Linked DNA regions of Homo sapiens: all the other regions are linked to region 1. The links are contacts of gene promoters, found by promoter capture Hi-C in human tissues and cell types (Jung and others, 2019). All regions are on one chromosome and are shown on one strand. The core of a region is centred on a gene start or on the middle of the fragment in contact, and the rest is flanking DNA. Distances in the headings are between cores, read along the strand shown.

What was found. Contacts are between HindIII fragments. The study calls those that stand out against the background at their distance.
Region 2: a contact is called between a fragment that was not itself captured here and the fragment with the promoter of SLC25A1 in region 1, in 4 of the 25 tissues and cell types used here (dorsolateral prefrontal cortex, lymphoblastoid cells, mesendoderm cells and 1 more).
Region 3: a contact is called between a fragment that was not itself captured here and the fragment with the promoter of SLC25A1 in region 1, in 3 of the 25 tissues and cell types used here (IMR-90 fibroblasts, dorsolateral prefrontal cortex and mesendoderm cells).
Region 4: a contact is called between a fragment that was not itself captured here and the fragment with the promoter of SLC25A1 in region 1, in 2 of the 25 tissues and cell types used here (dorsolateral prefrontal cortex and lymphoblastoid cells).
Region 5: a contact is called between a fragment that was not itself captured here and the fragment with the promoter of SLC25A1 in region 1, in 1 of the 25 tissues and cell types used here (spleen).
Region 6: a contact is called between the fragment with the promoter of CLDN5 here and the fragment with the promoter of SLC25A1 in region 1, in 6 of the 25 tissues and cell types used here (IMR-90 fibroblasts, adrenal gland, lymphoblastoid cells and 3 more).

Annotation. Positions count from the first base shown.
Region 1 is chr22:19,176,730-19,180,263 of GRCh38, reverse strand. It overlaps SLC25A1 (solute carrier family 25 member 1), which reads left to right and starts at 1,528. Exons shown (of 9, transcript NM_005984.5): 1 at 1,528-1,684; 2 at 2,024-2,131; 3 at 2,223-2,322; 4 at 2,399-2,537; 5 at 3,060-3,144; 6 at 3,314-3,418. The coding sequence starts at 1,591. CLTCL1 (clathrin heavy chain like 1) reads left to right here. Exons shown (of 33, transcript NM_007098.4): 32 at 26-65; 33 at 295-791. The coding sequence ends at 45. RefSeq lists silencers at 932-1,031, 1,232-2,311 and an enhancer at 1,483-2,230. The HindIII fragment of the contact is 9,906 bases long and covers 1-3,534 here.
Region 2 is chr22:19,649,342-19,652,875 of GRCh38, reverse strand. No RefSeq gene overlaps it. Among named protein-coding and RNA genes, the nearest start is that of SEPTIN5, 63 kb to the left of the region's middle. The HindIII fragment of the contact is 5,730 bases long and covers 1-3,534 here.
Region 3 is chr22:19,605,413-19,608,946 of GRCh38, reverse strand. No RefSeq gene overlaps it. Among named protein-coding and RNA genes, the nearest start is that of LINC00895, 40 kb to the right of the region's middle. RefSeq lists enhancers at 1,398-1,971, 2,454-3,021, 3,022-3,534. The HindIII fragment of the contact is 6,740 bases long and covers 1-3,534 here.
Region 4 is chr22:19,585,912-19,589,445 of GRCh38, reverse strand. No RefSeq gene overlaps it. Among named protein-coding and RNA genes, the nearest start is that of LINC00895, 21 kb to the right of the region's middle. The HindIII fragment of the contact is 3,211 bases long and covers 185-3,395 here.
Region 5 is chr22:19,547,909-19,551,442 of GRCh38, reverse strand. No RefSeq gene overlaps it. Among named protein-coding and RNA genes, the nearest start is that of LINC00895, 17 kb to the left of the region's middle. The HindIII fragment of the contact is 6,562 bases long and covers 1-3,534 here.
Region 6 is chr22:19,522,753-19,526,286 of GRCh38, reverse strand. It overlaps CLDN5 (claudin 5), which reads left to right and starts at 1,877. Exons shown (of 1, transcript NM_001363066.2): 1 at 1,877-3,260. The coding sequence starts at 2,032. The coding sequence ends at 2,688. RefSeq lists an enhancer at 3,262-3,534. The HindIII fragment of the contact is 10,668 bases long and covers 1-2,107 here.

The DNA of each region.
Region 1 (3,534 bases), core at 279-2,778:
ATTAATGTCATTCTGGTTTTTTTAGATTTTGATGGGCATGAATGAGACCCAGCTGATTGCACTAAGTAAGTGTCCCATTTGGAGACTAGCTTATCCTCTAGCCAGGCCAGGTTCTCTGGCTGACCCCACGCTCCTTGCCTCTGGATGCCTGCTCTCTTGGGGCCTCAGCGTCTGGGTGGTAAGGGCTGGTCCTATAGACCCTGCTCCCTGGGCCCCGGGCTACTCAGGGGCAGCCAGGAGAGGACCCCCATGGGCAGGAAGAGCTCTGCTCATTGTGGGCTTCCCCCTCTGCAGGCCCTGCCGTGGGCCCAGCCCCTGCCAGCTTCCCCTATGGATATGCCTCTGCTCCCAACTTCGCCAGCCTCCAATGTACAACTTCCGCGTGTAGTGGGCGTTGTCACCACCCACCCTACCTGCAGAGTTACTAACTTCTCCAAGGAGCATGTCACTCCAGCAGCACAGGGGACGCAATGGGAGGCAGGGACACCTGGACAATATTTATTTTTGCTGAAACCCAATGACGGCAACCTCTGAGCCATCCCAGAGCCTGGGGAGGCCAGGGTAGAGGCTGACGGCGCAAGACCAGCTTTAGCCGACAACAGAGACTGGACTGTGGGCCCTCCTGCTGGAGCCAGGCCTTCCTCCTGGGCGCCTCCGACTGGCTGGAGCTGCCCCCTCCAGGCCAGTTTGAAGACTACATGAACACGTCTTGTTTGGAGGTACCGGACCTCATAAAAGGACTCTCAGCCTCTTGGCAATCATAAATATTAAAGTCGGTTTATCCAGGCAAAGGTGCTCTGCTTGGTGCTGGTATGGGTAGGAGGGACGGGCCAGTTTCCTAGGCCCCGCAGTCCATTAAAGATTTGCTGGGTCCTCTTTGGGGTGTGGGACCTCCGTTGCCCAGACAAGCTGCCTAGGAGAATACAGCCGCTTGCATTTGTGGTCTTTCCTGACCTTGTTCGCTGAGCGCAGAAACTACAACCGGGAAAGGTGTGGGTGGGAACCGGCAGGTGAGGCCCGGCCCGTGGCTGCTGCGGGAGGGGGGCCCGGCGGCGTAGCCCCTTCTCACCGGCCTCCCGCCTCCCGCCTCCAGGTTTGAAACGTTAGAGTTCCTCTGGGACTGGGCTAGCCCCACGTGTTTTCGGGGAGGGTGTGCCCCTGGCCTCCGGGATCCCTGGGGATCCCGCCGCTCTCGACAGTCGCGCAGACCCGAGGCCCGCTATCCCGCGGCGCGGCACACAGTGCACCTTGACCCACTGCTCGGAGCTGGGCCACGGCTCCGCCTCCCGCAGCCCCGCCCCCGTCCCGCCGCTCGCGGTCGCCCAGGGACTCGGCCTCGGCCATTGGCTGCGCTTTGGCCCCGCCCCTACGCCTGCCTCGGCGCGCCCCGCCCAGGCCTCAGTTTCCCGGCCCGCACGGGGCGGGCTGGGGGCGGGGCCTGGCTCGGACCACGCGGGGCGGGACCTGGAGCTGACGCGGCCGCCCCGCCCCTGGGACCATAACCGGCCGCCGCCGCCACCGCGGACCGAGCGCGGAGTTCTGGAGTCTCGGACCCGAAGCCGCCACAGGGCGCCCCGCCTCCCGCCCGCCATGCCCGCGCCCCGCGCCCCGCGCGCTCTGGCGGCCGCCGCGCCCGCGTCCGGGAAGGCCAAGCTGACGCACCCGGGGAAGGCGATCCTGGCAGGTGGGCCCCTCCGGGACGCGGACCCCTCTCCCGCCGCGCTTCTGGGTGGGCCCGGGACGCTGAGGCCCCGCCCCACTTCCGGGTTGGGCCGTGGGCTGGGGAGTCGTGGAGGCGCGGTCCTGGTCCCCACCCGGCGCGCTGGGACTCGCCCGCCTCCCGTCTGTCACCCCCTGCGCCTCGCCGGGACAACGGGGTGAGGGCATGGGGGCGTGGGGCCCCAGCCTATGTTCCCCGCGGCACTGGCGCGGCGGCCGCGCCGACCGAAGTCCGGGACGGGGGAGGGGCCCGAGCGCCAGCGGCCGGGCGGGAGTCTCAGGAGCGGGTTCCCGGTCCCTGCAGGCGGCCTGGCGGGTGGCATCGAGATCTGCATCACCTTCCCCACCGAGTACGTGAAGACGCAGCTGCAGCTGGACGAGCGCTCGCACCCGCCGCGGTACCGGGGCATCGGTGAGGAGGGGGAGGCCGCGGCGCCGCGGGGGGCGGGTACCCAGGGCGGCGGCACCGAGGGCCGTGGGGTCCTGACCGCCCCCTCCCCCAGGGGACTGCGTGCGGCAGACGGTTCGCAGCCATGGCGTCCTGGGCCTGTACCGCGGCCTTAGCTCCCTGCTCTACGGTTCCATCCCCAAGGCGGCCGTCAGGTGAGGCCCGGCCGGTGGCTGCTGCGGGAGGGGGGCTCGGCCGCGGCAGCCCCTCTCACCCGCCTCCCGCCTCCAGGTTTGGAATGTTCGAGTTCCTCAGCAACCACATGCGGGATGCCCAGGGACGGCTGGACAGCACGCGTGGGCTGCTGTGCGGCCTGGGCGCTGGCGTGGCCGAGGCCGTGGTGGTCGTGTGCCCCATGGAGACCATCAAGGTGGGGAAGGTCCTGGCGAGGACCCCGGACACGCAGGGAGTACGGAGACGGGCGGCCCCGCTGGCCCGGTGCTCCCGGGGCAACCGGCAAGCTGGGGAGGGTCTCCTGGACGCCAGGGAAGGCCGGCGGGGTGACCGCGGGGCCCTGGGGCAGGACGCCTGCCACGAAGGGCCACCCGTGGAGGCTGAGTCTATGCTAAAGGCAGCCTTAAAGTCTTTAAAAAATACTTTTATAAAGCAGAAAACAAAATGACACCTTCACTGCCAAAACTGGAAAAGAGCAGCAAACATAAAGGGAGAGGCTGCTCACAGGGCTGCCCTGTGTCCCAGAGCATGGTCCGTGTGGGCTGCCCTGTGTCCCGGGGCATGGTCCGTGTGGGCAGCCCAGGGCGGCCTTGGCTGCACTGCTTCCTGGGGAAGAGTTCCCAGTTCCCTCCACCCTGGATGGGCCCTGGGCCTGCCAGCTAGCCAGGACCCACCCAGGTGGCAGCCGAGAACCTGCGCCTTTGCTTCTCTCTCTCAGGTGAAGTTCATCCACGACCAGACCTCCCCAAACCCCAAGTACAGAGGATTCTTCCACGGGGTTAGGGAGATTGTGCGGGAACAAGGTGAGCCACTCGACCTTCCTGATAGGGCTCAGGGACCTGGGCCAGGGTGGGAAGGGCCTGCACCTCCCATCCTGCCTTGGGCTTTGTGCAACACCCACCCCCCACACACACCAATTCCCAACCGGGGCCTGAGAGGCTGCAGGGTAACCCCGTGCCTGCCTTCCCGCAGGGCTGAAGGGGACGTACCAGGGCCTCACAGCCACTGTCCTGAAGCAGGGCTCGAACCAGGCCATCCGCTTCTTCGTCATGACCTCCCTGCGCAACTGGTACCGAGGTGTGTCTGCATCACAGGGCCCCATCTCTGCACATGGCCAGCTCCTCTCCTCTCCTTGGGGCCACCCCTGGGTGGCGGGCACCCACCTTTTGAAGTGCTGATCCAGGCCCCTCCCG
Region 2 (3,534 bases), core at 291-2,790, 470 kb before region 1:
AAAATATGTGTTAATTGATGGTTTATGTTATTGGTAAGGCTTTCAGGAAACAGTAGGCTAGTCATAGTTAAGTTTCTGGGGAGTCAAAAATTATATGCGGATTTTCACCTGTGCCCCGAATTGCCACCATCATTCAAAGGTCTACTGTACATGTTCTTCTTCTTCTTTTTTTTGAGACACGGTCTCACTCTGTTGCCTAGGCTGGAGTGCAGTGGTACAATTTCAGCTCACTGCAACCTCTGCCTCTTGATTTCAAGCGATTTTCTGCCTTAGTCTGCCATGCAGCTGGGACTACAGGCGCCCACCAACATGCCTGGCTAATTTTTGTATTTTTAGTCGAGATGGGGTTTTGCCACGTTGGTCAGGCAGGTCTTGAACTCCTGACCTGACCACTTCAGGATCACCTGAAGTGATCCGCCCACCTTGGCCTCCCAGAATGCTGGGATTGCAGTCAGGAGCCACCATGCCTGGCCAACTGTACATCTTCTAATCCACAAACACAGGATGTCTTCCCATTTACTTGGGTCTTCCTTAATTTCTTTCAACAATGTTTTGTACAAGTCTCTCACTTTTTGGGTTAAATTTATCCCAAGTATTTTATTTTTTTCATGCTATTATAATCGAATTATCTTCTTACTTTTATTTTTACATTGCTTATTGCTACTGTATAGAAATACAATGGATTTCTGTATATTGATCTTGTATCCTGCAACCTTGCTGAACTAGTTTATTAGTAATTGTTTTCTTTTGTTTTGGATTTCTTAGCATTTTCTTTATACAAAATCACATCATTTTCAAATAGAAATAGTTTTGCTTCTTTATAATCTGGGTGGTTTTTCTTATCTAATTGCCCTGTTTAGAACCTCTATTACAATGCCGAATAGAGGTAGTAAGAGTGAACATCTTTGTCTTGTTCTTGATCATAGGGGGAAAGCTTTCAGTCTTCCACCATTATGATGTTAGCTGTGGGGGTTTTTATGGATGCCTTTTATCAGGTTGAGAAATTCCCTTACAGTCCTAGTTTGTTGAGTGTTTATCATGAAAGATTGATGGATTTTTGTTAGATGCTTTCTGCATTTATTAATATGCTCATGTGTTTTTTTGCCCATCTTTTTATTAATGTGATTGACTTGATTGATTGATTGTTGGACCAACTTTGCACTCCTGACATAAATGCTACTGACTCATAGTACAGAATCCTTTGTATATGTTGCTGGGTTTTGTTTGCTAGTATTTTGTTGAAGATTTTTGTATTTAAATTCTTAAAAGATATTGGCTTATAGCTTTCTTTTGTGTGTGCTTTTGTCTGGCATTGTTTTGTGGGTATTCATGGAATGAGTTGGGAAATGTTCTCTTCTTTTTTACTGTTTGGAAGAGTCTGTAAAGTATTGGTGTTAAATACTGTTTAAGCATTTGGTAGAATTCACTAGTGACACCATCTCACCCTAGGCTTTGCTTATGGGAAGTTTTGTTTGTTTTGTTTTGTTTTTTACTAATTCAATCTCTTTACTTGTAGTTCTATTCAGATCTTCTATTTCTTCTTGAGTCAGTTTCAGAAGTTTCTAACTTTCTAGAAATTTGTCTGTTTTATTTAGTTTATCTAACTTGTTGGCATGTGTATTAGTTTTCTATTGCACTGATAAATTTCCACACACTTAGTGGCTTAGAACCAAACAAATTTAATATCATGTAGTTCTTGAGGTCAGATATCCAAAATGGATTTCAAGGAGCTAAATTCAAGGTGTTAGCAAGGCTGCATTCCTTTTGGAGGCTCCAGGATAGACTCTGTCCCTTTGCCTTTTCTGGCTTCTAAAAGTCACCTATATTCCTTGGCTTGTGACCCTTTTCTCTATCTTGAAAGCCAGCAGCATAGCATCTTCAAATCTTTGACTCTAACCCTCTTGCTTCCCTCTTTCGTCTGTAAGAATCCTTGTGGTTATCTTGAGCTCATCCAGATAATCCAAGTTAAGACTCCCATATCAAGATCCTTAACTTAATCATATCTTCAAAATCCCATCTGCCATTTAAGGTAACATCTTCATAGGTTCCAGGGATTAGGACATAGACATCTTAGGGGAACATTATGCCACCTGCCACAGCATACATTTGTTCATAGTATTCCCTTATAATCATTTTTCTGTAATGTTGGTGGTGATGTTTTCTTTTTCATTCCTAATTTTAGTAATTTGAGTCTGACTTTTTTTCTTAGTCAGTATAGCAAAAGGCTGTCAACTTTGTTGATCTTTTTTGAAAAGTCAACTTTTGGTTTTATTGATTATTATTTTCTTTTCTCTTTTAAAATTTATTTCCACTGTAATCTGTATTTTTTACTTCCTTCCACTTGCATTATTTTTGGTTTGCTCTTCCTTTTCTAGTTTCTGAAGGTGAAAGTTTATATTATTAAATTGAATTTTCCTTGTTTACTAATATAGGTGCTTATAGCTTTAAATTTCTCTCTAAGCACTATTTTAGTGCATCCCATAAGTTTTGGTAGGCTGTGTCTTATTCTTCTTTAATCTCAAAGTATTTCCTAATTTCCCTTACGATTTCTTGTTTTACCCATTGGTTACTGTGTTGTTGAATTTCCACATATTTGTGAATTTCCCAAATTTCCTTCCGCTATTGATTTCTAATTTTATTCCATTGTGATTTGAGAAGACAATTTGTATGATTTCAGTCCTTTTAAATTTATTGAGACTCATTTTATGGCCTAATATATGGTCTATCCTGAAGATGTTTCATGTGCAATTGAAAAGAATGTATATTCTGCTAGTGGGTGGAGTGTTCTACAGATGTCTGTTAGTTATAGTTGGCTTATAATATTGTTCAACTCTTCTATTTTCTTTTGTTGTTGTTGTTGTTGTTTGTTTTTTGTTGGTTTTTTTTTGAGATGGAGTCTCACTCTGTTGCCCAGGCTGAAGTGCAGTGGCACAGTCTCAGCTCACTGCAAGCTCCGCCTCCTGGGTTCACGCCATTCTCCTGCCTCAGCCTCCTGAGTAGCTGGGACTACAGGCGCCTGCCACCACGCCTGGCTGATTTTCTTTCGTATTTTTAGTAGAGATGGGGCTTCACCGTGTTAGCCAGGATGGTCTCAATCTCCTGACCTCGTGATCCACCCGCCTCAGCCTCCCAAAGTGCTGGGATTACAGGTGTGAGCCACCACACCTGGCCAACTCTTCTATTTTCTTGTTGAACTTCTGAGAATGACCTCTTGAACTCTATGACTATTATTGTTGAATTCTTTATTTCTCTCTTTAATCTGTCATTTTTTGCTTCATGTATCCTGGGACTTTGTTGCTAAGTGCATATATGTTTATCATTGTTATATCTTCTTGATGAATATACCCTTTATTATTACAAAACTTCCCACTTTGTTTCTAGTAACATTTTTTGTGCTAAAACCTATTTTGTCTAATATTAGTATAGCCACTCCAGCTCCTTTTTGGGTACTGTTTGCATGGTATATCATTTTCCATTCTTTTACTTTCAACATACTTGTGTCTTTAAATCTAAGGTATATTTCTTGGGAGAACA
Region 3 (3,534 bases), core at 331-2,830, 430 kb before region 1:
TTAAAAATGGGTAGACCTTTTATGTTCTGTATGTTTGACCACAATCACATATTTTTAAAAGAAAGGAAAGGATGCCTGAGATTCAGATCAGAGCTCTGACAGCCAGTTTGTTTTCTGTGTCCAACCCATTTTTCTTTGCTTCTGTCTCCCTCCATTTACTGACCCTCACTTTACTTTAAAAACCAGATCTCTGAGGAAGGCATGAGGCAGCCAATAGCCACCTCTGGAGGCCAGGAGGCACTGGCACCGCGATGCTGTGGGGTACGGTGTGGAGAAGGCAGTGTGGCCCTGTGAGCTCGTGAGCCAGTGGGGACAAAGCTCACAGCCATCGATGCCACGCAGCTCAGGCACCACACAGAGACGGCCACCAGCCTGGAATCTGCTCCATGTCTTGGGAGAAAAGGAGCCTAGAACTCAGCCAAAGCATGAAAGCCTGGGTGAGAAATGCTGGTTTTCACTGAGAGAACTGAAATAGAAACTTCAGTCTCTTTCTGCCAAAGACACCAAAGCCTCTGGAATCTGAGCCACTGAGGCCTGAAAAGCAATTCTGGTTCTGGGGCTTATCACCACCCCCATTAACCCCCTCAGTCAGGGGCTGGCCACCCCACTGCCCTGGACGCTGTTTAGGGCATGGCCCTTCACACACCTCCCCACAGAGGCTGCATCCGAGCTCCCCTGAGACTCACCACCTCAGCTCTTCTCATTGGCTAAATCCCATCCACCCTTCTGGTGTGGCTTCCTCTAAGGGACCCCCTGACCACCCAGCCTGAATGCACACTTAGGTGGATATGAGTATTTATGTGTGATGCTGTCATCCCCTGAGTCTGCCCCCTGGTTCCCAGCCTGCTCAACTCTGTATCCCAAGCGTCTGACAGGAATAATGATTTGCTGAAGGTTGAATGAACCCACGACACTGTCGGGGCTCAGACTCCTGCAACGTTACTGAGTAAATCCACGGGAGGAGAGACGGAGCTCAGCCTGGGACAGGCCTTCCCGTGGCACCAGCCTGGCCTTGGGAACACAAGCTTTTCAGGAACCTGCTGCTCATAAAAACTGTATAGTTGTCAAAGCCGAGCACATTCTGCTCCCAGGTTAGAGGGTGCGCGATTCTATCCGAATGTTGATTCTGAAGATAAACTGCCCTTTAGCAGCAAGTGGGGCTGAAAATGAGGCTCTCAGAATGGAAACGCAAACTTCGAAACTGGTGAGGGCGGGAAGCTGTTGTAAACATCGCTGATGCATAGTCGGCCCGTAGCTCAGCTCTCTCTTTGGGAACCTTGCCCACCCCCTCCCCTGCCAGGCAGCAGGCTGCACGCCCTGCCTCCCTCCGGGAAGCACCTGGCCTGACATCACTCCACTGTCATCAGGCAGAGGACGGGCACATCCTGTGCTCAGCCCTCCAAAAGCAAACACAGCGGGCTGGGGAGAGGCTGGAGCTGGATGCAGGGCACCTGCAAACCCAGCCCTCTCCCTGCTCCTGGAGGCACAGGCACCTCCTCCCCGGGTGCGAGGAGCAGCCCTGAGCAGGGCTGCCTAATGGGGAGGCAGGCTTGGGCCCACGCAAACCTTTCTGTCTTTACTGTGGGTGCATCGGCACCAAGGGCAGGGGCAGGCACTGCTCTTCCGGTGTGACAGCAACCCGGTGCCGGGTGGAGAGGGATGACAGGGAAAGGTGAGAGGGAGCTTCCCAGAGCACCGGAAATGTCCTATCCCTGGGTGGGATGTAGATTTCATGAAAGTTCATCAGCCAAAACTCCTGTTATGGGAAACAAGATCTGTGCATTTTGTTGTATGAAAATTATGCCTTACTTAAAACAAAACGGATCACACCCACTAGGATGACTGCTATTAAAAAAACACACACACACACATGCTGGTGAGGATGTGAATGAAGACGGTGGGACCCTCATGTGCAGACGGTGGGACCCTCGTGTGCCGATGGTGGGAATGTGAGATGGTGCAACTGCTATGGAAATCAGTGTGGCTGCTCCTCAAAAGTTAAAAGTAAGAAGAGCCTCTGATCCAGCACACCATTTCCAGGTGTAGATCCAAAAGAAGCGAAAGCAGGATTGGGGCAAATGCCCACCCATGCTGAAGAGATAGAGGGAACCTGAGTGCCCATGAGGAGATGAATGGATAAAGAAAAGATGACACATCCGCAGAAGGCAGCATCACTCAGCCTGGAGAGGCAGGGAACTCGGACACACACCGCCACGTGGATGGACCTTGCGGATATTATGCAAAGTAAAATAAGTCAGTCACAGAAAGACAAATGCGGAGTGAGTCCACTGACATGAGTTCTCTAGAATAGCCAAATTCACAGACAGAAAGCAGAATGGTAAGCTGGGGAGGGGCTGAAAAGAAGGGAGAAAGGAGAGTTGTGGTTTAGTGGGTACAGTGTTTCAGTTTTGCAGGATGAAAAGGATTTTGGAGACTGGATGCACAACAACGCGGATATACTTAGGTTATACTAAGGATATACTTAGGATATACTTAGGTTATCGAACTGGGTGCTTAAAAATGGTTATGATGATAAATGTCATGTTGGGCGTTTGTTACCACAAGTGAGTAGAAAAGCTGCACAGTGATGGGGCCAGGGATCTTAGCAGCCCCCATCATCCTCATCCTTACTTCTCAACCACGCGGCCCTGGCCCTTCTGTGTCGGCCCCACTTCCTCAGGAAACACCAGCCGTGGCCTGAAGAGACCCTCCAGAGTCCCCGTGGCCGACCCCAGGCCTGCTTCCCCACCGACTGGCTGGGGTGTCTCCTGTTATCTGGAAAGGCTGCTTCCCAGAGCAAGTCTAGAACCGCCCCACTGGGAGCAGATGGTACTATGCGAAGGCCACTGTCACGCACGGGGCTGCCATCCCACGGGCTGGCCCTGGGCAGGTGGGTCTCTGGGACCAGCTCTGGCAGCACAAGAGGAGCCCCCGGCCCTGCCACCCTTCAAAGAGCACCACCTGAGCACAGGACAGAGGCCCGCTGCCTGTGGGGCCACCACAGACCCCGGCCCTCTTAATGAACACACGGCGGGCGGAGGGGGGCGTCCCTCGGAGGCAGGCCCTGGCAGCCACAGGTGTGGGACAGTTGATGGCATGTGGGCCGCTGCCTTCTCTCTGGAACCCGTGCAGTTGTGCAGTTGGCCCCCAGCACAGCCTCTTCCACTCCGATTAAGCACCAACGGTTTGTGCCAACCCCATGAAATGTGACTACCAACCTGACTTTGTCATCGCAGGAAGGGAGGGAACGCAGGGCCTGGGCTTGGCAAGCGTCTTGTGGGAAGGGCCAGTTGGTAAATATGTTAGGCTCTCCAGGCCACATGGCCTCTGTCCCAGCTACTCAACCTTGCCGTGGGAGCAAAACAGCCCACACAAAGCAAAAGGAATGGGCACCACTGTGTTCCAGTAAAGCTCATTTATGGACAGTGAATTAGAATTTCAGATCGTTTTCACATGTCATGAAATCTTTTTATTTTTTACGATCATAACTCACTGCAGCCTCCAACTCCTGGGCTCAAGCGATCCTTCTGAGTA
Region 4 (3,534 bases), core at 541-3,040, 410 kb before region 1:
GTAATTATTGGAATTGAAAAGAGGTAGAAGAAGGAACCAAAAATAATTCCCAAGTGTCTGGTGTGGCCAACGGGATGGGACAGTGGCTCTGCTCACTGGTTTAATTATTCAGGAGCTTAGAAGGACCATTCCATAATTCTCCTCCATCACTGTTCTAGGAGTTACCAGCAGGTCATGAGGAAGAAGATAGTTATTTTTAAAAAATCATTTGAGGAGTACTGTTCAGCGATCAAAAGGAATAAATGTGGCCGGGTGCAGTGGCTCACACCTGTAATCCCATCACTTTGGGAGACGAAGGTGGGAGGATCACTTGAGGCCGGGAGTTCAACACCAGCCTGGGCAACATAGTTAAGACCCCATCTCTAAAAAAAATTAAAATGGGCTGGGCGTGGTGACTCACACCTGTAATCCCAGCACTTTGGGAGGCCGAGGCGGGTGGATCATGAGGTCAGGAGATCGAGACCATCCTGGCTAACATGGTGAAACCCCGTCTCTACTAAAAATACAAAAAATTAGCCTGGTGTGGTGGCGGGCGCCTGTAGTCCCAGCTACTCGGGAGGCTGAGGCAGGAGAATGGCGTAGACCCAGAAGGCGGAGCTTGCAATGAGCCAAGATTGCGCCACTGCACTCAGCCTGGGCGACAGAGCGAGACTCTGTCTCAAAATAAAATAAAATAAAATAAAAATAAAAAATTAGTAGGGCACAGTGGCACACACCTGTCATCCCAGCTACTTGGGAGGCTGAGGCGGGAGGATAATTTGAGCCCAGGAGTTCAGGGCTGCAGTGAGCTACAATGGCACCGATGCACTCCAGCCTGGGCAACGAAGCAAGACTGTTTCAAAACAACAACGACAAAGGAATAAAGGTTTGGCACATGTAACAACACAGATAAAGCTGAAAAACATTGTGCTGAGCGAAAGGTACCAGACAAGAAGCAGCATAGAGTGAATGATTCCACTTCTGTGAAACCCTGAAAGCTAAATCTAATCTCTAGTGACCAGTGTTTGGCCAGGTCTGTGAATAAGGGATTTGACAGAGACTGCAGCACAAGGAAGCTTCCCGGGGAAAGGGGAACACCCTGCGTTTTGATGGTGACGGTAAGTACATCAGCCAATTCATTGAAAAATGGTGCATTTTTGTGCATTCATCTTTGCGCATTCATTTTAAGTGAATTGGCTGATGTAATTACCATCACCATTAAGTGAATTATATTTTAATAATAAGTGTGATTTTAGAACGTAAAAAACAATCAGAACTGTGGATAAATTCATTCTCTTCCTTTGAAGATGTGTTCTTGGGCTTGAACTAATAACCAGTCTTGGCAGTCACATGGGTTTTTACTCTATGAACTGATTACCTGAAATAAAGGGCCCAAGATTTTTAAAGTGCCACGTATGGGCAGTTCCAAATCTTTAGGCTTTTCCTTACAATCCATTCACTAAAATATGTTCCATTTTATTCTACTTGAAATTATCAGAATTTCATTTCTTGGGTAATTGTTATTTTAGGTCACACTGAGTAACTGTAGGCTAGAATTACTGCCTGGCAGCTCAGAACATGAGGGGACAAATACAGACTTTTGCTCTGGGAAGCGCACGGCCTTTGGTTATGAGAAAGGCTTAGCCCTTGTCTTCAAGTGAATTGGATTTCTGCTGTGATTTGGGTGTGTTTAGCAGGTAAGGAAAGAGTACAGGAGCAATAGGGGCTGGCCAGGGCTGCACAGCCTGTTGGTGGGAAGGTCCAGACAGACACTGCCCCTGGCCACCAGGGTCTGGCTCAAGCCACCTCTCATAGGAAGATGCGCCTTAATGATTCAGAGGGTACTATTTTCATAGACTTCAAATCTAGCATTGTACTGCCTGGTACTTTGGTTTCCTGAACAATAGTCCAGTTAATTCAGCCTGGGCAACATAGCAAGACCCTATCTCTACAAAACTTTTTAAAAAAATTAGCCAGGCATGGTGACACATGCCTTTAGTCCTGGCTACTTGGGAGGCAGAGGCAGGAGGATCACTTGAGCCCAGGAGTTTGTGGCTGCAGGGAGCTAATGATAGCGCTGATATGGAAGGGAAGTGCTGGGAAGGGAACAGCGTGGTCCCTTTAAATGATACAGGAGTGGGGAAGAGAAGTGCTGGGTAGAGGAGGGCATGGTCCCTGGCTAGAGCTCCACCACTATGTACCTAGGTGAGGATAGGCACTCCTGCCCAAACATTGCATTTACCCAGAATGCCCTGGCCTGCTGCATCCCCATGATGTGCCTATGAAAACCCCCAAGACCCTAGCAGGCAGACACAGAAGTGGCTGGACATCATGAGGAACACACTGGCAGAAGGAGACGCAAGCCGCTGGACTTTGAGAGGATGTTGAAAGGAGCACTCTGGCAGAAGAGCACACTGGCAGACACTGGCAGGCTCTCGACTGGTGGAACGACGTGGAGTTTGGCCAGGGCAGTCGAGGAGAGCCTGGGCTGCTGAGCGACCCGACTCCAGGGGAAAGCCACCTTCCCACTCCATCTCCCTTCTGGCTCCCCCATCTACTGAGAGCTACTTCCACTCAACAAAACCTTGCACTCATTCTCCAAGCCCACGTGTGATCCAATTCTTCCGGTACACCAAGTCAAAAACCCGGATACAGGAAGTCCTCTGTCCTCGCAACAAGGTACAGGGTCCTTTTTTTCTGTTTTTGTTTTTGTTTTTTTTTTTTGTTTTTTGTTGAGATGGTGTCTCCCTGTGTCGCCTAGGCTGGAGTGCAGTGGTGCAATCTCTGCTCACTGCAACCTCTGCCTCTGGGGTTCAAGTGATTCTCATGCCTCAGCCTCCCGAATAGGTGGGATTACAGGTGTGAGCCACCACACCCGGATAATTTTTGTATTTTTAAGTAGAGACGGGGTTTCGCCATGTTGGGCCAGGCTGGTCTTGAACTTCTGACCTCAAGTGATCTGCCCACCTCGGCCTCCCAAAGTGCTGGGATTACAGGCATGAGCCACCATGCCAGGCCTAGAGGGTCTAATTGAACTGGTTAACAAAAGCCACCTATAGACAGCAAAACTAAAAGAGCAAACAGTAGCACATGCCCACTGGGTCCTGGCTGTAAACATTAACCCCTAGACATTGCCCTGGGGCCGGAGCCCCACAGCCTGCCCATCTGTATGCTCCCCTAGCGGTTTGAGCAGTGGGGCACTGAAGAAGCGAACCACACCCCCATCGCCTGCCCTGCGAGGGGGACACGGGAACTTTTCCTGTTTCAGCACCACTGCACTCCAGCCTGGGCAATAGAGGGAGACTCTGTCTCAAAACAAAAACAAAAACAAAAACAAAACACAAAAAAACACAACTGGGTGCGGTGGCTCATGCCTGTAATCCCAGCACTTTGGGCCAAGGCAGGCAGATTGCTTGTGCCCAGGAGTTAGACAGCAGTCTTGGCAACATAACAAAACCCCATCTCTACAAAAAATACAAAAATTAGCTGGGTGTGGTGGCATGAGTGTGTAGTCTCAGCTACTCAGGAGGCTGAGGTAGGAGGATTGTTTGAGCC
Region 5 (3,534 bases), core at 746-3,245, 370 kb before region 1:
GTTGAATGAGGCTACAGCGCGGATGAACCTGGAAACACTGTGCTAAGAGAAAGACGCCCGACACAAAAGCCCACATACTGTGTGATTCCAGTTTTATGAAATGTCCAGAATAGGCAAATCTACGGAGAGAAAGATGCCAGACACAAAAGCCCACATGCTGTGTGATTCCGGTTCTATGAAATGTCCAGAACAGGCAAATCCATGGAGAGAAAGACGCCAGACACAAAAGCCCACATGCTGTGTGATTCCGGTTCTATGAAATGTCCAGAATAGGAAAATCTACGGAGAGAAAGATGCCAGACACAAAAGCCCACATGCTGTGTGATTCCAGTTCTATGAAATGTCCAGAACAGGCAAATCCACGAAGACAGAAAGTAGATTGGTGGATACCTAGGGCATGGGGTGGGGAGAAGTGGAGAATAACTGCCAACAGATTTGTGGTTTCTCTTGGGGAAATGGAAATGTTCTGGAATTACACCGTGGCGATGCATGTACAGCATAGTGAATATACTAAAGCCACTGAAGTATAAACTTTAAAGTGATTAATTTTATGTTATGTGAATTGTATCTCAATAAAAAATGTTTTAAAAAGGAAAGAAACAGCTGGGCATGGTGGCTCATGCCTATAATCCCAGCACTTTGGGAGGCCGATGTGGGAGGATCACTTGAGACCAGGAGTTCTAAACTAGCCGGGGTGACCATAGCACGACCTCGTCTCTACAAAAGAAAAATTTAAAAATTCACCAGGTGTGGTGGCACGTTCTTGTAGTCCAAACTACTCAGGAGGCTGAAGGAGGAGGATCGCTTGAGCCCAGGAGTTTGAGACTGCAGTGAGCTATGATTACACCACTGCACTGCAGCCTGGGTGACAGAGTGACACCCTGTCTAAAAAAAAAAAAAAGGAAAAAAATCCAACTAGAACGGTCTTAATATAGCAATTTATTGGCTCATGCCAGTGGATGTTCAGAGGTAAGGCAGGCTCCAGGGCTGTTCAGCTTACAGGCTTTACAGAACCATCATAGAGGCTGGACGCAGTGGCTCATGCCTGTAATTCCAGCACTTTGGAAGGCTGAGGTAGGCAGATCACCTGAGGTCAGGAGTTCAAGACCAGCCTGGCCAACATGGTGAAACCCCATCTCTACTAAAAATATAAAAATTAGCTGGGGCCAGGCGCAGTAGCTCACACCTGTAATCACAGAACTTTGGGAGCCTGAGGCGGGCAGATCACCTGAGGTCAGGAGTTTGAGACCAGCCTGGCCAACATGGTGAAACCCCATCTCTACTAAAAATACAAAAAAATTAGCTGGGCGTGGTGGTGGGCGCTTGTAATCCCAGCTACTTGGGAGACTGAGGCAGGAGAATCGCTCGAACCCAAGATGCAGAGGTTGCAGTGAGCTGAGATCGTACCATTGCACTCCAGCCTGGGCTACAAGAGCAAAACTCTGTCTCAAAAAACAAACAAACAAAAACTGTGATAGAAACCTGAGTACCTTCCATTGCTCCACCCCTCAGCTTTATCCTAAGGCTGGTTCCCTTAGTGATGGAAGGATGGCTGCCAAGCAATAGGAGTGCGGAGTTTCCCTCTTCGTGTGTTGGTAGGAGCCATTTTTTCACATGGCTGTATCTTGAAAATAAGGACCCCGGTCCCAGAATCCCCAGCAATCTTGCACTGGCCAATTGCTGGCCCACATAGGGTCACATACGCATTCTGAGTCCATCTCCAGCACTAAAGGAAATGCATACCCAGCAGGCTGGGGCCTAACCTCTAAACCTGTCATTGTCAGAGCAGTGGAGATGCTGTGATTTCAGGGACTAGTGACACCAGTGACTCGGGTCCGTCCAACAAGCCACCTTACAGCCACCTAGTGGAGCCTGGACCTGCCCCAGACCTCTATTGCTGTAGATATTTTATGACGGACCCCACTGTGCAAGATGAAGAAATCTTCCTGCTCTACCTCCCCGTTTCCATCAGCTTTACTATTATTTCACATCATCAAGGTTGCTTACGTTTTCCTTTGTTCTCGCATTACTATCTCCCATCTGGGACTTCCTCGTTGACAGGGTGGCAAGCTTGGGCTTCCTTTATGGTCATTTTGGCCTGCTGATCCTGGGGTCTCTGGTCCTGTGTTTGGAGGTGGCTGTGGGATGTGGGGGGTCCCATCCCAGGGCAGACTTCTTTGTAGGGTGCATGTAGTGGCTGCACTCCAAACACCCCAAACCTCAGTGGCCTGAAACAGCAACAGTCATTTCTGTCATCTCTCATGGCTCTGGGGTTGACTGGGCTCGCCTGGGTGGTTCTTGCTCAGATAGTCACAGAGGCTGGGGTTGCTTGGAAAACTCTTTCCCTCTATCTGGTAGTTGATGCTGGCTGCCAGCTGGAACATCTACATGTGGCCTCTAAGTCTGGTCTGAGTTGCTCACAACATGGCGACTGGGCTCCAAGAGTGAGCCACTAAAGAGGATGAGGAGCAAGTTGTATCACCTCTTATGATCTAGCCTGGAAGTCACATAGCATCATTTCTGTCACAACCTTCCCAGGTGCAAGGAGAGGGAATATAGACCCCAGCTTTTGATGGGGAGCACATCAGCATTGTATCATAAGAGCAGCACATGCTTGTACACCCATGTTCATGGCACCATCATTTGGAACAGCCAATACGACTGTATTTTTAAAAACATTTTTTGAGGCAGTCTCACTGTCACCCAGACTCACGTGCAGTGGTGCGATCACTGCTAACTGCAGCCTCAACTTCCCAGGCTCAAGCGATCCTCCCACTTCAGCCTCCCAAGTGGCTGGGACTACAGGCATGCATCATCATGCCTGGCCAATTTTTTTTGTAGAGAAGGGGTCTTGCTATGTTGCCCAGGCTGGTCTTGAATTCCTGGGCTCAAGTGGTCCTCCCACCTTGGCCTCTCAAAGTGTTGAGATTACAGGCGCAAGCTACCATCCCTGGCCCCAAGTGGACTTTTGGTTGATGAATGGATAAACAAATGTAATATAACTATATAGGGGAATTTTACTCAGCCTTAAAAAGGAATGAAGGGGCCAGGCGCGGTGGCTCATGCCTGTACTTTGAGAGGTTGAGGCGGGTGGATCACCTGAGGTCAGAAGTTCAAGACCAGCCTGGCCAACATGGCGAAACCCCATCTCTACTAAAAATACAAAAATTAGCAGGGCGTGGTGGCAGGCGCCTGTAATCCCAGCTACTCAGGAGGCTGAGGCAGGAGAATCACTTGAACCTGGGGGGCGGAGGTTGCAGTGAGCAGAGATCGCGCCACTTCACTTCAGCCTGGGTGTAAGAGCAAAACTCTGTCTCAAAAAAAAAAAAAAAAAATGGAATGAAGGGCCAGGCATGGTGTCTCACGCCTGTAATCCCAGCATTCAGGGAAGCAGAGGCAGGTGGATGCTTGAGCCCAGTAGTTTGAGACCAGCCCAGGCAACATGGCAAAACTTTCTCTACAAAAAATACAAAAAAATTACCAAGGCATGGTGGCGTGCACCCGTAGTCCCAACTACTCGGGAGGCTGAGGTGG
Region 6 (3,534 bases), core at 628-3,127, 350 kb before region 1:
CTGGGCAAGGGCAGGTCCCTGATGACCTGAGGAGGCCGCAGCAGTCATCCCAGGAAGATGGTGGCATGGAAGGGCTGGGAGTAGGGGGATCTGGGGAAGTTCCCTGGGCTTGGGTTAGGGGGTAGTAAGAGTGAGAGGGTGGGTGGGTCAGCTGTACCCCTGGAGTACACAGAGGAGGAGATGTCCAGGAGGGTCTGTAGAGGAAGGGGCATGGCCCATGGGTCTGCAGCAGGAGGAAGGCAGTGACTAAAGTGATAGCTGGGAGAAGGCAGTGGTCCTCAGAGCCATACCTGGTGGGGAGAGGCCACGTGGGGCTGAGCAAAGAGGGTATGATTTCCTTCCAGCCTCAGGGCTGGGCACACTTGCCTTCAGAACCTCCCCACACTAGGTGAGCCAGACGCTGGCCTTATCTCATTTACCATCTCAGAGCCATCTGAAGGGGGAGAAGGGAACCGGGCCCCAGGAGGGAGAAAGTCATCAAACCTCCCACATCTGTGACCAGCCTCAGTGCCATACTTTTTCTATGGAGGGCCCTGTCCAATGGAACTGAGCACAGACCAGATAAAAGAACTGGGCACCCAGTGGCCTCAGTCCAGGGCCTGGAGTTCAAACTTTACTGGAAACAAAGGGGCCGAGAGAGACTGGGGAAAGAACTACTAGAAAGGGGCTGGTGCCCCCATGGGGCTGTGGGTTTTGGAGCCGCGTGCCCCCACCTGAGCCTCAGGGGGCCCGGAGTGTCCACACCAGTGGACCTTTCGAGAAATGGCTGGGCCATTGTGCAGAAGAATGCCCGGAAATCCCGCGCCTCCCTCCTCCAGCAAGGATGGGGGCTCTTCCTCCTGGCCAGGAAACTCCAAGTTGGCTTCCGGAGGGTGGCCTGGGGGCTGGGGTGCCAGGGACACCATCGCCACTGGTGGGAGGGCAGGGCACAGCCCCTCCGTGTCCCTTTGTCTCTCCTGTCTGAAGGCCAGAGCAGGCTGCTAGGCCTGGGGCCACCACTGCCCCTGGGTGCTACACCCAGTGTGCTGGGTCACTGGGAACTTCCTGAAGTGGTGTCACCTGAACTGGGCCCCCAAGGATGGGGTGCGGGCAGTACCGCAGGAAGAGGAGCAGCCCCTGTGAAGATTGAGAGGTCTGGGAAGCCCCTGCGGCTTGGGAGAGTGGGGGTCGCCAGGCAGGGGGAAAGCCCCTGTGCCACCGCTTTTTGCCAGAGACTCAGGCTCCAGAGAGGCAGTGAGTGGCATGGGGGGTGAGGCTGGGGCCCTGGGCCTGACCTCCACACGCCTGCCTGGCCTCTCTGTTTGCCATGGGATGAGAGAGACAGTGCTGGGACTCAGAGCGGGGCTGGAGAGTGAGAGTGCGAGAAAGGGCCTGGGTGGGGCTTGGACCCCGGGGCGGGCTTTCTGGAGAGCCCCCCTACGAGGGCCTCTACGGCGGTGACGGGGTGGGGGGCTTCTGCAAACCTTGGTCAGGGAAGTGGAGCTGGCTCGAGTGGAAGAGACCACCCGGCTCAGTCGGGGATGTGGGAGTGGACTGGGTGGTGCAGACTGGGGGTCGAGCGCCTTCTGAAGTGACGGGGCCGGGACGCGCAGGGAGGCGGCCCAAGAAGCGCGCCCTAGGCCAGCCCAGAATGCGCTCGGCCGCGACTAGGACAACGGCGGGTGGGGCTGGGGGCGGCTGCCGGGCGGGGAGCGGTCCCGCGCCCTCAGCTACCCCTCAAGAGCCGTTGTTTCCCTAACTTCAGCTGCCAGAGGCTCTGTGATTGGCTGCGGCACGATGACCCGCGCACGGATTGGCTGCTTCGGGCCGGGGGGCCGGGCCCGGGGGACAGAATCCGCCCCCGAACCTTCAAAGAGGGTACCCCCCGGCAGGAGCTGGCAGACCCAGGAGGTGCGACAGACCCGCGGGGCAAACGGACTGGGGCCAAGAGCCGGGAGCGCGGGCGCAAAGGCACCAGGGCCCGCCCAGGGCGCCGCGCAGCACGGCCTTGGGGGTTCTGCGGGCCTTCGGGTGCGCGTCTCGCCTCTAGCCATGGGGTCCGCAGCGTTGGAGATCCTGGGCCTGGTGCTGTGCCTGGTGGGCTGGGGGGGTCTGATCCTGGCGTGCGGGCTGCCCATGTGGCAGGTGACCGCCTTCCTGGACCACAACATCGTGACGGCGCAGACCACCTGGAAGGGGCTGTGGATGTCGTGCGTGGTGCAGAGCACCGGGCACATGCAGTGCAAAGTGTACGACTCGGTGCTGGCTCTGAGCACCGAGGTGCAGGCGGCGCGGGCGCTCACCGTGAGCGCCGTGCTGCTGGCGTTCGTTGCGCTCTTCGTGACCCTGGCGGGCGCGCAGTGCACCACCTGCGTGGCCCCGGGCCCGGCCAAGGCGCGTGTGGCCCTCACGGGAGGCGTGCTCTACCTGTTTTGCGGGCTGCTGGCGCTCGTGCCACTCTGCTGGTTCGCCAACATTGTCGTCCGCGAGTTTTACGACCCGTCTGTGCCCGTGTCGCAGAAGTACGAGCTGGGCGCAGCGCTGTACATCGGCTGGGCGGCCACCGCGCTGCTCATGGTAGGCGGCTGCCTCTTGTGCTGCGGCGCCTGGGTCTGCACCGGCCGTCCCGACCTCAGCTTCCCCGTGAAGTACTCAGCGCCGCGGCGGCCCACGGCCACCGGCGACTACGACAAGAAGAACTACGTCTGAGGGCGCTGGGCACGGCCGGGCCCCTCCTGCCAGCCACGCCTGCGAGGCGTTGGATAAGCCTGGGGAGCCCCGCATGGACCGCGGCTTCCGCCGGGTAGCGCGGCGCGCAGGCTCCTCGGAACGTCCGGCTCTGCGCCCCGACGCGGCTCCTGGATCCGCTCCTGCCTGCGCCCGCAGCTGACCTTCTCCTGCCACTAGCCCGGCCCTGCCCTTAACAGACGGAATGAAGTTTCCTTTTCTGTGCGCGGCGCTGTTTCCATAGGCAGAGCGGGTGTCAGACTGAGGATTTCGCTTCCCCTCCAAGACGCTGGGGGTCTTGGCTGCTGCCTTACTTCCCAGAGGCTCCTGCTGACTTCGGAGGGGCGGATGCAGAGCCCAGGGCCCCCACCGGAAGATGTGTACAGCTGGTCTTTACTCCATCGGCAGGGCCCGAGCCCAGGGACCAGTGACTTGGCCTGGACCTCCCGGTCTCACTCCAGCATCTCCCCAGGCAAGGCTTGTGGGCACCGGAGCTTGAGAGAGGGCGGGAGTGGGAAGGCTAAGAATCTGCTTAGTAAATGGTTTGAACTCTCTCCCACCTGTGTCCTGTTCTCTGTCCAGCCATCTTCCGTGTCCAGCAGCCCCATTCATCACCCACCAGCCCCGCCCTCCCAAGGACTCCTGTGGAGACCTCCTCCCAGGGCTGGAGGCTGGGGCTCTTTTCCCCATCCTCCCTGCCACCTTCCCACCAGGTGGGAGACACAGCCACCACTTACTACAGCCCAGAAAGGCGGGATCTGCGGTCAGAAGAGCTGCTGCGTCATGGGGCCCTGGGGCCCGGGATGGGACAGGGGCGGGGGCAGCGGC